Linked DNA regions of Homo sapiens: region 1 is linked to region 2. Evidence: promoter capture Hi-C in 16 types of primary human blood cells and fetal thymus (Javierre and others, 2016). All regions are on one chromosome and are shown on one strand. The core of a region is centred on a gene start or on the middle of the fragment in contact, and the rest is flanking DNA. Distances in the headings are between cores, read along the strand shown. Region 1 holds the start of RAB1A (RAB1A, member RAS oncogene family). Region 2 holds the start of PNO1 (partner of NOB1 homolog).

Region 1 (3,166 bases), core at 288-2,787, 3.0 Mb before region 2:
TGCAAAAGATTTCAGCTTCAAGCCACACTATTACAAAACTTGTAAGCATTTTGCAAGAGCCATGTGACACACATATGACAGTCAGCTAAACTGGTGGGTGGACCTTTTAGGGGAAAATGTCTAGCAGTAATTGACCAAACCAGCAAATAAACTCAACTTTTACAACAAATACTGATGTTCCCCCATCCCTCAAAGGCCTTTGACACTGAAAAGGAATACCAATTCGGTCTCTTCCAATTATTCATTACTTTACATGCATGTAAACTGTAGAGGAAATTTTTAAAGGGCCATTGAGGAGAGCCCAACAAACTCTACCCAAGGGAAGTGAACACCAGTTCCCAGGAAAGGTGCCAGGTGTGTCACATCTGCTGTGGTGACTTCTTGAGTAAGCAAGAAAAAGAAATGCATTAACTTTTCATGACACGTCATGGAACCTCATTCCCTATCTGCAAGCATCCAAGCAGGTAATCCAAAACCTACATACAGATCTATCATAGGTCCCGTTCGTTTCTCTTTCAACTTGACAGCAAGCTTCCTTTAATCTGCGAGTATCAAAAAGACATTTCTTGGCTTTAGTTTTTTTTTTTTCCCTTGACCCACAGAAGACAAAATGACTTAGGTGTCCTCTTTAAAAAAAAAAAAAACAAAATTCTCACAAATGCCCAGGTTTTTATAGGAGGGCAATGGACCCGGCGAGCTCTTAAACAACTCCTCCAAGACACAACTCAAAAAGAGAACTAATAAATGTTCAGTTGCTTCTCACCATCTACTCATTCCCCTCAATCCCACGCAGTCCCGAAAAGCATCCATATTACCTGAAACCTGGCGGGGAGGATGGAAGGAGAGAGAGCCAACAAGCTCAGGATTTACAAGTAAAGCTGGTTTCTACCCCGAAGATCCTGACAGCTCCGCAGAGTGCGGGCGCAGGGTCTGACAGTGCCCTCTAGAAGGGCTCTCCCACCCCATCCCCTCCCCTTAGAGACAAGTCCTCCTTCAAAAGTCACTGCCTCCGAGAGAAGATACCCCTTCACACCGCCCCAGGCCCCTCGGCAGGCTTCCTCAGCACCCGCCCCGCAGTCAGGCCCTCTAACCTGACCCGGTCCAGGCCCGGGCGGCTCACCCCTCCGGCCCGACCCCTCCCCCGCGCGGCCGCCCCTCCGCGTCAGACAATGGGGCCCGACTCCCGGCCGCCAGCCTCTCCTGACCCATCACCCTCGCCTCACCCCAGCCGATGCCCCGACTTCTGCCCCAACCCTCCTCGACCCCTTTAAGATCCCCCAAGCTGGCCCACGGACCCAGCCGACCGGTGCTCTCCTGAACTCACTATTCGGGATTCATGCTGGACATGTCACTGCAGCTGCCGCCGCCGCCACCGCCGCCCTTGCTGCCGCAGCCGCCGCCCTGACTCTCCGCGCCACGGGTAATCGAAAGAAAGGAATGAGATAGGCTGTTCCGGGAGAGCAAACGTCTTCCCCTACTCCGTCCCCTAGAACACAATCAGCAGCCGCCGCCACTCAGCTATCGCTTCCACCCAAAATGGCCGCCGGCGAACCAGGAAATAGGGAAGCCTTAGACCGAGGGGCCTTTACACGGCCCAGAGGGCGGCCGCACCGCCTGGCATGCCGGGAAAGGGAGTCGCGAGCGCGGCTACGCGAGCTGAGGACAGACAGTGCGACGCAAGGCCAGGACTCAGCTTCCCGCCAAGCGCCGCGCCTCTGGGGCATGCGTACCTGAAGGGTTGTCGCCCGCCCCATTCCCCACTCCCTCACCTCCCCACCCTCGGCCCCTCCCTGCTCCCCTCCCCTCTGACTCGCTGGCTAGGACTTCGCTCGGACTCCCCCTGGCGGATTGGCTAAGGCCGAGCTGCCCTAGTGATGTCATCAGTGAGACGTGGCAGCCGGGCGAGTCAGCGCCCCACGGGGGAGGGGGCGGAGAGGGGCGGAGGGTGGTGCCGGCGGCCGACGGAGGCTGGGGGTCGGGGGAGGCAAGGGACCGGGGGGAGTGGTCAAACCGGAGGGACTGCCGGGGGTGCGGGGGCGGGGAGGGGGCCGGGGTACGAGCGTGTCGGCTCCTGCCTCCGTTGCGGCTGTTGCTGACCTGACCAGCTTGAGGCTTGCGCCACCCTGGTGGCGCTGGTTGGGGGCTGGTAGGAGGACGTCCGCTCTAAGAACAGAAGGGAAGTCAAGGGGCTCCCTGGACGGCACGGAGCGGTTCTTCTCGTCACTCACCCATCCCCACCTGGGTTCGGTCATCGTCCATTGTTGGCCCCGCGCACTACCATTTTCTTCTTAGATTTCTTCCCATTCTTACTGTGCCCCGCTCTTAACTCGTCAGCCTGGCTATTGCAGTAGTCTCCAAATGGACTCTACCTCTCTCTCTCCTCTCCGCCCCAGCCCATTTGCACACACAGTCGGATGTATCTTTCTGAGACAGCACCTGCATCGTGACCCCACAACCTTCAATGGCTCCACATCCCATGGATGGGAGGGACACAGCCCAGAGCCAGCCTAAAATCCAATTCCTACCTTCGTCCCGGCCTTCAGGTTGAATTGTAATGTATTATCTTTTAGTTGCTACTAACCCTGAGCCATTCTGCAAGACTGGAAAATAATAAGCAATAAAAATAGGCAATTCATCACTATATAGTGCCTACAATTTCTGGGAGTAATATTAACTCATTTTTAAAAAACCTATGGCCTTAACAGCTCTCTTTAATCAGCTCAGGAATTTAAATCTCCGCTAAACTTTAACACATTATCTTGAGTTATTTAATTACAAAGGGCATAGTGTAATACATTGTCCAAAGTTTATCTTCCAACTTCTAAGAACTAAGAAAATTGTCTCCTGAGACTTACTGCAGAATCACTTTAAATTCCTACAACGCCAAAATATAGAAAGAAGGCACTTATTTCTACCCATACACTAATTACACCCCTTAGCCCTCAAATTCTGCCATGGGCCTTAGTTGATGAACTTATCAAAAGTTACCCGAGTTTGGTTTCTGAAATGAACATGTTGGTTTCTGAAATGAACACGGTCACCACCCCAGGAATACCCTGAATGGTTCAGTAATAGGCACCAAAAAGTGTTCGTTACCCTGGACTCTAAAGCCCATTAAAAAAAAAAAAAGCTTATTTTGATTTCAAATAAAAACTCAGAAAACTGG
Region 2 (3,464 bases), core at 844-3,343:
ACATTGGAATAGCAACAGGTAGCCAGGCTTGGTGGCTCACGCCTGTAATCCCAGTATTACGGGAGGCCGATGTAGGCAGACTGCTTGAGCCCAGGAGTTGGAGACCAGCCTAGGCAACACGGTGAAACCCCATCTCTACCAAAATAAAAAATAAAAAAATAAAAAGTACAAAAAAATTAGTTAGGTGTGGTGGCACACACCTGTAGTCCCAGCTACTTGGGAGGCTGAGGTGGGGAGGCGGAGGTTGCAGTGAGCTGTGTTTGCACCACAGCACTCCGGGCTGGGTGACAGATTGAGACCCTGTCTCAAAAAAAAAAAAAAAAAAAAAAAAGCCACTGGTTACCAGAAGCTAAGTGATGAACAATACAAGGAACGAAGGAAAGGTAGAAAAAAATAAGCCATGTTTCATGTTTGTCATTCAGGGAAACTTAAAGCGGGATGGGGTCTTACATACTTTCTATTCTAGGCTTAACAGTCCAAATTGTATTCATCCTTTATCTACCAGTTTAATCCCTACCTCCTCCAAGCAGATTCTCTCCATAGGTTTTGATCCCCAGAGTTAACCTACCCTGCACTTGTAGTCTATTACAACCCTGATCTGATAATGACTGATCATTTTTTCAGGTAACAAAATCAACACTTTTTAAAAACTATAAACAGCTATAAAATGCTAGTTACTATCATTATTCTCTAATTCTTTCACTAGTAATCTTCAAAAAAACCTTGCAAACCTAATCTTTCCACACCCTGCTTAAATCCTTTCAGTTGTGTCCGTTTTTTCTTAGAAAAAAGGCATAAATCCTTTGAATGTCCTACAGATCTTGCAATGTCTGGTTCCTGCTTATCCCTCTAGTTTCTTAAGGAGATAAACTTCTTCCCATCACTGAGCTTCTGCATGTGCAGAAGCCCTGGAAACCTTGTCCTTTACTCCTAGTTTGACCTAGTTAGCTTCTGCACATACCAAAATCTGTTTTCATTCATCCCAAATCTGTTTTCACTCTCATTGAACCGTAACCGTGTTCCTTTGTGTGAGACAACTCATCTCGGTTTGTATTTATGTATCGTTGCTTTGATTATTGAACTGAGTATCTCTCCCACTAGAAAATAAACTCCATGAGATGGGGGACATTACCATTCACATCCCTGGGAATACCAGGCACTCAGCTGATGCCTGTCGAATGTGTTAGGTTGCCTCTTCCAACCACACTGCAGGCATCCTGGTGCCCGCTTTGGCTGGACTGCACTGGGGGTGGCAGGACGGTTGGGCGCGGAGGAACTACCCCGCGGATGAGAAGAAAGGTTTTAAATAGGAAACATTCCTCAGTCGGCGGTCAGCTTCTCTGGTCTCGCGCGGCTCAAGCCATGCTTTGGGGGACGCTGGGCGAAGGCTCTGGCAAAGAGGAATGCAGACCCCAGGATCCGCACTCGCCCCCAACGGCAGTCCGGATCCTCGACCCGGCACCCACCTCCCGAAGCAGCTTCAGGTCCCCGTGCTGGATCTCGTACAGCTGAATGACGCCGGTGCCCCGTGCGAAGTTGCCCATGGTCACAAATTTGGCGCTGCAGGGCACCCACTTACAGTCAAACACCGTGTAGTTGAAGCCCTTCTGGATATGGGCGATGATCTGAGGCTTCTCGAAGGCCGACATGGTGCAGCCAATTTCAGCTACGGCAACCGCCACACCCAGAGCCCCCAAAAACGGCAACCTGGAAACCAGACTCCAAACATTGGCAATTTGTCCCTCCCGCTTTCCGTATTCTGCCCCAGATGCCCTGGCATGTTGGCTGTAGTTATCCCCGGATAATGCCAGATGCGCTCCTGCGATCGCACAGAATGTTCCTTCACAACAGCACGAATTTGTTTATCGCCTTTACCCACTGCCTTTCGCACACATACATACTAGAGATTACAAAATACTTGGGCTGGGAGTTGCGCGGCTGGAGTGAGCCCAAGACCATCAGGCATATCTTAGGACAGCCTAACCCCGTTTTCCCCCCCACCGGCCCCAAATCCTGCAGGTCCCCGGCCTGTGACGTTTTAGGAAAGGGGCGGAGCTGCAGGGGTGGTTGGCTGAGGCTGGCTTCTGCGTGGTGCAGCTGCGCACGTGTTTCAGCCGGCAGCGCTTTAAGATTTCCGGGGATGGAATCCGAAATGGAAACGCAGAGCGCCAGGGCAGAGGAGGGCTTTACCCAGGTCACCCGCAAGGGTGGCCGACGGGCGAAGAAACGACAGGCTGAACAGCTGTCCGCAGCAGGAGAGGGCGGGGATGCGGGCCGCATGGACACAGAGGAGGCCAGGCCGGCGAAGAGGCCCGTCTTCCCACCCCTCTGTGGGGACGGGCTCCTGGTATGTGGCTGGGACCCTAGGACAGCAACGAGGCAAGGGCCAGACGCGGATCAAGCCGATGGCCTCTGGAGAATGTTGAAGCTGCGGTGGGGCTGTTCTGCCGTGATGCTCAGAGAGAAGTGATTCTTTGAAGTGTAACTAGTTCAGTTAAAGGAGGCCCTTTGTGGATCAGATGTCATTTTAAACTCCATCACCGTCCCTCCATAGCCTTCTGAGTTGTGTGTTCTTTTATTTACAGAGTGGGAAAGAAGAAACAAGGAAAATTCCAGTCCCAGCTAACAGATACACACCATTGAAAGAAAACTGGATGAAGATATTTACTCCTATTGTGGAACATTTGGGACTTCAGATACGCTTTAACTTGAAATCAAGGAATGTAGAAATCAGGGTAAGGAAAATCTCAATCATTTCCCAATACACCAGGCTTTCTCTCCTACAGAGATGAAAAGGCATGAATAGGCTTTACTTAATGGGACTTTTCTGTTGTATGGTTTTTGTCCAGTTTAAAAATTTACCATATTGAGTTTGAACTTCCCAAATGCCTTAAAAATCTGCATTCGATACAAATATTAATTGAATTTGTAAATTAGTTCTGAGATCACACCAAAATACTGGCTCTTCTTCTGTGTATCTTTTATAATGTTCTATGTCAAATTGAGAAAAGGTCGAGTAAAGAGATTGCCATAAACAGAAGCAGGTAAATAATGAATATAAGCACTTGCTGCTTTACAAGAAGTATATACAGTCAGCGTCGGGAATATGTTCTGGGATATGTTTTGTCAGATGACTTAGTCCTTGTGCGAATATTATAGAGTGTACTTACACAAACCTAGATGGTATGTGTATATTTGTTTATATATTTTTTTCATATGGAAAACCAAATGTCCCAGCACCATTACTGAATATCAGTCATTTCATCTACTTGATCTGCATTGCCGGTATCCAGTGCCATATATCAGGTTTCTGTATATTCTCCATTATACTGTTATGAGACCACCATGGTATGAGCGGTTGGTCACTGATCAAAATGTCATTATGCAGTGCATGACTGTGTTTTAATGGTGCTCTTTTGATTAAAAAATGTATTATTTTGATAAGAAACATGCATATATATGTG

What was found. The method cuts DNA at HindIII sites, captures the fragments that hold promoters and counts their contacts. A CHiCAGO score of 5 or more calls a contact.
Region 1: the fragment with the promoter of RAB1A here is called in contact with the fragment with the promoter of PNO1 in region 2 in 1 of 17 cell types (M0 macrophages); the score reaches 7.0 in M0 macrophages.

The regions. Positions count from the first base shown.
Region 1 is chr2:65,128,569-65,131,734 of GRCh38, forward strand. RAB1A (RAB1A, member RAS oncogene family) reads right to left here and starts at 1,538. Exons shown (of 6, transcript NM_004161.5): 1 at 1,325-1,538. The coding sequence starts at 1,347. RefSeq lists enhancers at 806-1,320, 1,317-1,576, 1,321-1,834 and silencers at 1,137-1,186, 1,687-2,036. The HindIII fragment of the contact is 2,599 bases long and covers 530-3,128 here.
Region 2 is chr2:68,155,795-68,159,258 of GRCh38, forward strand. PNO1 (partner of NOB1 homolog) reads left to right here and starts at 2,094. Exons shown (of 7, transcript NM_020143.4): 1 at 2,094-2,347; 2 at 2,586-2,735. The coding sequence starts at 2,141. It overlaps DNAAF10 (dynein axonemal assembly factor 10), which reads right to left and starts at 1,733. Exons shown (of 8, transcript NM_138458.4): 1 at 1,467-1,733. The coding sequence starts at 1,649. RefSeq lists enhancers at 976-1,908, 1,366-1,505, 1,786-2,025, 2,306-2,405. The HindIII fragment of the contact is 6,016 bases long and covers 1-3,464 here.